Linked DNA regions of Homo sapiens: all the other regions are linked to region 3. The links are contacts of gene promoters, found by promoter capture Hi-C in human tissues and cell types (Jung and others, 2019). All regions are on one chromosome and are shown on one strand. Each heading gives the region's core, a stretch centred on a gene start or on the middle of the fragment in contact. The rest is flanking DNA. Distances are from core to core; before and after follow the strand shown. Region 1 overlaps LOC124909386 (a long non-coding RNA gene). Region 2 overlaps ABHD6 (abhydrolase domain containing 6, acylglycerol lipase). Region 3 holds the start of ABHD6 (abhydrolase domain containing 6, acylglycerol lipase).

The links. Contacts are between HindIII fragments. The study calls those that stand out against the background at their distance.
Region 1: a fragment that was not itself captured here is called in contact with the fragment with the promoter of ABHD6 in region 3 in 1 of the 25 tissues and cell types used here (liver).
Region 2: a contact is called between a fragment that was not itself captured here and the fragment with the promoter of ABHD6 in region 3, in 4 of the 25 tissues and cell types used here (dorsolateral prefrontal cortex, hippocampus, ovary and 1 more).

The regions. Positions count from the first base shown.
Region 1 is chr3:58,183,227-58,185,926 of GRCh38, forward strand. It overlaps LOC124909386 (a long non-coding RNA gene), which reads left to right. Exons shown (of 2, transcript XR_007095929.1): 1 at 1-2,700. Among named protein-coding and RNA genes, the nearest start is that of FLNB-AS1, 14 kb to the left of the region's middle. The HindIII fragment of the contact is 6,139 bases long and covers 1-2,700 here.
Region 2 is chr3:58,287,029-58,289,728 of GRCh38, forward strand. The region is part of intron 9 of ABHD6 (abhydrolase domain containing 6, acylglycerol lipase); the gene reads left to right. Among named protein-coding and RNA genes, the nearest start is that of RPP14, 18 kb to the right of the region's middle. The HindIII fragment of the contact is 4,978 bases long and covers 1-2,700 here.
Region 3 is chr3:58,236,413-58,239,349 of GRCh38, forward strand. It overlaps ABHD6 (abhydrolase domain containing 6, acylglycerol lipase), which reads left to right and starts at 1,380. Exons shown (of 10, transcript NM_001320126.2): 1 at 1,380-1,504. RefSeq lists an enhancer at 791-1,730 and silencers at 952-1,121, 1,132-1,621. The HindIII fragment of the contact is 20,801 bases long and covers 1-2,937 here.

The DNA.
Region 1 (2,700 bases), core at 141-2,640, 53 kb before region 3:
AGTGACATTCCAGTGGCTGCAAAAAGACACAGGGAAGAGGGGTTAAAGGCATAATCTGGACCCCAGCTAGGTCAGCCAAAAATGCCCTTTTACACATGTAAAGCACAGTCTAGGGCCTGGCATGAAGTAAGTGTTCAAACAAATGGTAGCTGGTATTATTAGCACTGTAGTTGGTGGTGGTGGTGACTCAACAGGCAGGATTTGCAGCCTATGGGCATGTGGGGAGCTAGTTCAGCCTTGAGTAGCCCCCACGTGCCTCCTGTGGAGCACTGGTATGGGTGGGGTATCCAGGGACAACAGGAGAAATGGGATGTGGGGTAAGTGAGCTTGGGGTGGGGTAGAGTCAGAATAGTTAATTGGAATTGCCCCCCTATCAGGACAGATCCTGGTGGTGCTGCCAAGGTGGGGTGTCAAGGTCTCCGTGCGATGTCAGGCATTACCCTTTGGTTATGAGGTCATAGGAGGGTCTGAGGGTCCTAAGGTAGGAAGGCATGGCTGGTCCTAGGTGGTACAGAAATGTTGCACTTTTTTAACAACTGAAGCAGCTATAGTAGTGTGTCCCTGCTGGCCCTCGGCCCTGTGGGTTGGGGAAATGTGGCAGGAGGAAGGTGACCCTCACTCTCCCCAGCCTCTGCTGTGTTGCAGGGGACGCTATGAAGCACATCAAGGTTCCAACTTATGCCAAGGTCCAGTCCATCACAAAGGTGTTTTACACCCAAAGTGGCATCTGCCATTTCCCACGGCAAACAGACCAGCTCACGTGAGTCCACATGGGGAAAGGTCCCCAGAGCTGCTCCTATCCTATGCCTATGGCCCATCTGGACCCTCCGGCCAGACTCACCCTTGCTCTGCAGCTGTCGAGCCCCCGCCGCCTTGCTGTGCATGGGTAGGCATGAGAGTGACTAAGGCGGGGTCTGGACCAATCGGTGGCCCTCCCTCCCGGCTGTCTGCCTCCAAGGACCTCAGCTCCTTGTAGGGCTGCCTCCGCCCCTGCCGTCATTGGCAAGGCGTGGACATGGGGGCTGCTTTCCTGGGGGGAAACAGTGGGGTTTCCAAGTGCTCCCTCAGCAGACCCGGCGCAGGAGAGGGCTCGCTAAATCCTTAAGGTGCTAAAGGGAGAGAATATCTCCCTGCTTTTTATTTCTCTACATTCTGTTGAAGGGATCCATAGCTGGGTTGCTTAGTGCCAATTTACCCCATAGTTTAGGGAAGAAGTAGTTTACGTTTTTGCTTACCGCTTCTCTCATCCCTCAGAACCTGTGTTAGTCAGGGTTGCCTCACTGCTAAAACAAACAGCCCCTAAGTCCCAGTTGCTTAAACCAATAAAGACGTCTTTCCTACATGGCCGTCCAATCTGATGTTGGGCAGGTGACCTTCCACCTGCTGATCCGGGGACCCAGGCTTCTCCCACCTGGTAGCTCTGCCATCCCCTAGGGCCTCACAGCCCTCCTCTGAGTCCTCTACATCCAGCCAGGGAAAGGGGAGAGAGACTGAGCATGGAGAGAATACACCTGCTCTGAACCGCCTTGGCCTGGAGCTAAGCGGTGTCACTTCCTCTCCCATTCCACTGGTGAGAACAAGTCACATGACTCCTAGATGTGAGAGGGCTGGGTTGATTCATGGAGCCATGCGCTCAGCAGGAAGAGGAGGAAGGGTACCACAGTGGCCTACATGTCTTGTGCAGCCACCATGCTAAATTCGAAGCTCCTTCCGGTATCAGTTTCTTAGGGTTGCCATAATAAAGTACCCCAAACTCAGTGGCTTAACACAACAGAAATTGGCGATCTCACATTTTTGGAGGCTGGAAGTCAGATCAAGCTGTGGGCAGGGTCAAGCTTTCTCTGAAACCTATAGGGACAAACACTTTCTTGCCCTTCCTGGCTTCTGGTGGCCACCAGCATCCTTGGCCTTCCTCAGCTTCCAGCTGCAGCACTCCAGGCTCTGCGTTCCTCGTCACGTGGCTGTCTACCTGTGTGTCACTCTGGCTTCCCATGACTGTCTCCTTAGAAGGGCATCAATCGTATTGGATTAGGGGCCCACGCCTCCAGTATGTCCTCATCTTAACGAATTACATTTGCAGTGGTCCTATTGCCAAATGAGGTGGCACTGGCAGTTAGAACTTGGAAAAAAAAAAACTTAAATATTTTTGGGCCAGGCGCAGTGGCTCACGCCTGTAATCCCAGCACTTTGGGAGGCCGACGTGGGCAGATCACCTGAAGTCAGGAGTTGGAGACCATCCTGGCCAACATGGTGAAACCCTGTCTCTACTAAAAATACAAAAATTAGCCGGGCGTGATGGCGGGTGCCTGTAATCCCAGCTACTCGGGAGGCTGAGGCAGGAGAATCGCTTGAACCTGGGAGGCTGAGGCAGGAGAATCGCTTGAACCTGGGAGGCTGAGGCAGGAGAATCGCTTGAACCTGGGAGGCTGAGGCAGGAGAATCGCTTGAACCTGGGAGGCTGAGGCAGGAGAATCGCTTGAACCTGGGAAGCTGAGGCAGGCGAATCGCTTGAACCTGGGAGGCTGAGGCAGGAGAATCGCTTGAACCTGGGAGGCAGAGGTTATGGTGAGCCGAGATCGCACCGCTGCACTTCAGCCTGGGTGACAGAGCAAGACTCTGTCTCAAAAATAAATAAATAAATAGTCTTTTGGGAGGAACAATTCATTCCATACCACCTCCCTTCTGACAGCTAAACCTTGG
Region 2 (2,700 bases), core at 49-2,548, 51 kb after region 3:
CACTTTGGGAGGCTAAGGCAGGAGGATTGCTTGAGCCCAGGAGTTTGAGACCAACCTGGGCAGCATAGTGAGATCCCATCTCTATAAAAAATAAATTTTTAAAAAAGTAGCCAAGCATGGTGGTATGCATCTGTAGTCCCAGCTACTCTGGAGGGTGAGGCAGGAGGATCACTTGAGTCCAGGACATGGAGGTGGCAGTGAGCCGTGATTGCTTCACTGCACACCAGCCTGGGCCACAGGGCGGGATCCTATCTCAAAAAAATAAAAATAAAAAAGAATACAGAGTATACCTGCATACCCTTTACCTAAATGCATCAATTTTTAACTGGCAGGAGGTCACACTGTGGCCACAAAGACCCACAAGTGCATGAATGACCCAGGCAGGAGAGAGTGGGGAGGAGCAGCCAGGCTGTGCCCATGGCGTGTACGCAGAATAAGAGGCAATGGTGTCTTAGATGAGCCAGGCATGGTGAGGATTCACAGCATGGTTTTGTGGACGTGGAGAGAAGGGGATCTCATGTGCTCTCTTCTGCAGCGCCAAGGGACTGAAAGAAGCTTTGTTTGTGCCCTGGGCTATGCCAGCAGAGAGTCATTTGATCAGGAATCAGAGCCTGAGCAGCGAAGGCCTTCTGTTGTTCTAAAAACCCCAAAGGTGATTTGGGGCTCTCAGGAGCCAACAGGGAGAGGCTGTAACCCATCTTCCTGTGGAGACAGCGCAGAAGCAAGGGCACTGGCCTTGGATTCTGAAAGTCTATGTTCCAGCCCTACTTTTGTCCTTGGTCAGCCCATGCATGACCTTGAGCAAGTAACTCAGCCCCTCTAAATTAAGGGTTTCTGAAACTTCTAGTACCAGGGTTATTTTGAGGCTCAAATGAAATAATATGTATGAAAATGATCTTCCAGTTGCAAAAAAGTTAGGTTAGCTGGTATTAGATTAGACTGCTCATGTCCTTTGCCTCTGTTGGTGGCTTCAATGCATGGTCCAAATTTTTTTCCCAGACTCAGAAGTCCGTTTCATTCCAGAAAAAGAGCCTAACATTCTATGGGCTTGCTATAAATGTGATCAGATCCTTCATGTGTTTTGTGGACTGTCCCTGGGACAGAGGCCAAATAGCAGAGGCTTCAGGGAGTCTTTTATTTCACAGCCTTTTGCCTCCCAAGCTCGCTGGCTCTTTTCCTGCTCTGTCATCAACATTTGGTGTCACAGCACCTGCCCCTACCAGGCCAAATTCAGCTTCCTTCTTCTTTGGACCCCTGTAGGCTGACTGCTATACTGCACAGCTGCAGGGGGAGCCATGTGCATTGTCATTTTTGTGAATGATGGATTTGGTCTGTATACAACCTGTACACCCAAACATGGCAGCCCTTCCTGAGAGGGTTTCTGCATGCTTCATTTCAAGCATCGCTCCTCTATGTTCAGTCCATCAAAATGGGAGGGCCATCTAGAGACAGACAGGCTATTATTCTTTATGTCCCTTCTCCCTGCCAGCACCGTGCCTGGTATGCAGGAGACCCAGAGTACACAGTGAGTGAGCAAACAAGTGAGAAATTGAGTGAACAAACCAACTAGTGAAGGGATAAACCCACTGACTGACTACACATTTAAGCCAGTTAACAGGCATTTATTGAGCACCTAGTATGTGCCTAACACTGTATTAGGCCCTGAGGATACAGTAGGGACCAAGACAGCCAGGATCCCTGCCCTCCAGCAATTTATCGTCTACCTACCCTTATAGTGCATAACAGGCCCGAGACAAGGGTGAGATGAGAGAGATGTGTCATGCAGGTGCAGGGTCAGATCCTGTCTGTATTTATGATTTTGATATTTTGTTCATCATGTGCCTTTTTCCATTAATGTTTTTTTTAACATACTGCACTAAAATATTTTCTCTTAATTTATGAGTTTTTTGGCACTTAAATTTTGTGCCTTAGGCAAATGCCTCATTTGCCTCACCATAGTTTTAGCCCTGGTGTGAAGCAATGCAGGAAAAGGTTTTGATTTTTGTTTTTTGTTGGGCAGGGGGGTTGTTTGTTTGTTTGTTCTGAGACTGGTTCTTGCTCTGTCACCCAGGCTAGAATGCAGTGGCTCAATCATAGCTCACTGCAGCCTCAACCTCCTGAGCTCAAGCAATGCTCCCACCTCAGCCTCCCAGGCAGCTGGGACTACAGGCATGTGCCACCACACCCGGGTAATTTTTTATTTTTTTTATTTTTTTATTTTTTTTATTGATCATTCTTGGGTGTTTCTCACAGAGGGGGATTTGGCAGGGTCATAGGACAATAGTGGAGGGAAGGTCACCAGATAAACAAGTGAACAAAGGTCTCTGGTTTTCCTAGGCAGAGGACCCTGAGGCCTTCCGCAGTGTTTGTGTCCCTGGGTACTTGAGATTAGGGAGTGGTGATGACTCTTAACGAGCATGCTGCCTTCAGGCATCTGTTTAACAAAGCACATCTTGCACTGCCCTTAATCCATTTAACCCTGAGTGGACACAGCACATGTTTCAGAGAGCACAGGGTTGCGGGGTAAGGTCACAGATCAACAGGATCCCAAGGCAGAAGAATCTTTCTTAGTACAGAACAAAATGAAAAGTCTCCCATGTCTACCTCTTTCTACACAGACACGGCAACCATCCGATTTCTCAATCTTTTCCCCACCTTTCCCCCCTTTCTATTCCACAAAACCACCATTGTCATCATGGC
Region 3 (2,937 bases), core at 130-2,629:
ATGCCCCTTTGCCACTTCTCCGGGACTTCTTGACTGTGTCCTATTCTTAAAACCCAGGACCTGCACCACTCAGCCAGGCTCCACCAGCGTGGAGGCCTTGGCAGGCTGAGGCCCAAAGGCTGCCTTTGTGGGGGATTTAAACGGCCAAGAGAGTCTTGCTGAGCCCTGGCCCCTTGACGTCTGGAGTGGCAGGCCAAGCACTCAGTGCAGCAGGAAGATCTGGGTGCCACTAAGGCCCCTAACAGGTGTAGTAAATATCTGTTAAATGAACGAATACATGTTTTGATGAAAGAAGCCCACAGTGCAGTGTGAGCCCAAAGGGGTCTTACTGAAGGCTTCCTGGAGGAAGTGGCAGCTAAACTGAGACATGGAAAACACGGAAGAGTAGCCAGGCCAAGCTGGGGTTTAACTGTCCCTAAAAGAAAGAAACGACCATAGCAGGGGTTTAACCAGAGGTGGCCGAAGGCCTTTCCAGGTGCCCATTTCTCCCGTATAGCTTTGGAGTCAGACGATCCTCGGTTGGAATTCCCAGTTCAGTCCTTACAGTCTGACGTCCCGCACAACCCGACGCCGGCAACTGTCTCCAAACACCCGAGAGCCAGGGCGGGAGCATGAGCGCCTACGGTGTTCCTTGGGGTGGAGCCCTCGCAGTGTCCAGAGGATTTGGGGGCTCCTGCGCCCCCATTTCTCCCATTTCCTGGACTATCCAGGGCAAGCCCCTCACCTCCCTGAGCCTCGGTGTCTTCTGAGAAAAGAAGTCGACCCCAGTGCCTACCTCATAGGATTACGTGAGACAACCGATGTCAAGCAGTGTTGCTTTGCTGCCTGAGAACCCCTGCCTGTCCCTTTCTCTCTGATGCCCTTCGGGGCAGAGATCCAGAGATCCTGCCTGAGTCACTTTGGCGGGTTTAATGCCCAGCCGCGCCAGGCACACAGTAGGTGCTCAGTAAGTGAAACAGTGCCGGGAAGAATTCGGGCCGGGGATGTGGAACTGTGTGTGGCTCTGCGGGCTCAGAGGCCCTCCCCGCGCCCCGCCACCGTGTGCGTTCCGGGGCGGGGCGGGGCGGGGGCGGGGGCGGGGGCGGGGGCGGGACCGGGCGCTCGGGCTCCGCCCCCGGTACCTCTGTAGGCGATCCTGCTCTCGCCGTGGCTTTCGGGTGCTAGGAGACAGTTGCCGGCGTTGGGTTGTGCGAGACGCTAACTGTACCCTCCGGGTTTAACGCTGTGAGGCAGCGCGCGGAGGAACTGGGGATAAGCGCCCCGGAGCCCCCAAACAGAGCGCGGCCGCTGGGGGACAGCGCGCGGCGCCGGGTCGGGGCGGGGCGGCTTTTCTGTCGGAGGACGCGAACCGGCACGCTGCGCCTTTAAGGAGTCCAGCTGGGCTGGGCGCCGGAGCTGGGAGCGGCGCGGGTAGGAGCCCGGCGGCAGGTCCCAGCCCGGGGCTAGAGACCGAGGGCCGGGGTCCGGGCCCGGCGGCGGGACCCAGGCGGTTGAGGCTGGTCAGGTGAGCGGAGGCGGGCGGGCGGGCGGTGGTGCGCTCCTAGGGGGATGGGGCGCCCTGATGGCCCCGTGACCTCTCCCCCAGTGTCTCCCTGCAGCGGCGCATCGAGTGGAAAGAGTCGGCGATCTGCACTTGCCTTTCCACTCCGCTCCCCGCGCGGGCGCTGCCCCCACCTCCCGCTGCCTGGATAGGTTTGAGATGCCCGAAACCCGGCGCCCCATTTCCTGGGTCCAGCCAGCCTCTTGAAGCCGGGGGACAGAGTGAGGACGGGTCGGGACCTGCACCCTCTTTCTACTTCGCCTCCCCACCCCCTGCGCCCGCAGCAGCCCTTAGGCGCCCCTCGCAGTGCCGAGAGGATTTTGGGGTCCTGCAGCCCTGTTTCCCCCATTTCCTGGAGAAGGACTGCAGCTCGCCCACCCAGATAGCATCTTGCTCCGTGTCACGCGCCGCCTCCGCGCCGTCCCCAAGATCTCGCTCCGCTACTCCCCTCCCCCAGCAGCCTTTCAGCTTCCCTTTCCCCAGCCTGCCCCGGCTCCCGTGCCCTTGCGCCCCTTCCGTGTCGAAACACTTGAATCAGGATGCTGTCCAGCCAGGTACCCGCCGGCAACTTGCGGTCCCCCGCCTACAGCGACACAGGTTTCACGGCTGCCTTAGAAATGCGGATTGTGTAACGCCGGCTGCAGGGCAGTGCACGTGCAGGGTTTGCGCCCCTGAGCCCACAGCGAGGCCAGGTGACAGAGTGAGGCATGGGGGAGTGGGGGAAGAGGAGGATGCCAGAGGGTCTAGATACTGTGCATGCAGAGAATATGTATTTTGAGCCCTTTGTATGCCCCAGGAGCTGGGTGGTTAGGAAGAGGAAATAAAGTGGGGGTCTTACTCCAGCTGGGACCTGGAGGCCCTCATTTATCTCGCCGCCCCCCTCCCCGCTGCTCCCGCCTGCTCAGAAATCCCTAGTGGCTCCACCTGGCTAAGAGTTTAAAGTAGTTTATAATGAATAATAGCTGACATAGAATAAGCAAATCTTGTGTGCCAGGCCCTGTCCTAAGCCCCTTAAAAGAATTACCTGCCATACTTTCCCCAACAGCCCCTTGAGGTAGGTACCACCGCTGTGCCCATTCCTGAGAGCAGGAATATGAGGCTTCCAGAGGTGGTACCTTCCCAAGACACGAAGTGAGTCTGGCCTCAGAACCACCCCCTTCCCCCAACCGCCCCCCCAACCCGACCTCGAACCACTAGACTTTTTACCCAATTTCAACAAATTCTTATCAAGAACATTGTTATAATATAGGAAATTAGAAATAACAGAAATTAATCACCTGTGTTTCTAGCACTAATTTGTTTTTCTCAGACCAGCAAGGGCCTCTCAGCTTCTGGTAATAGTACCCACTTTAAAGGGTAGTGGCAATATTTAGATAAAATAATGCACAGGGCCCAGC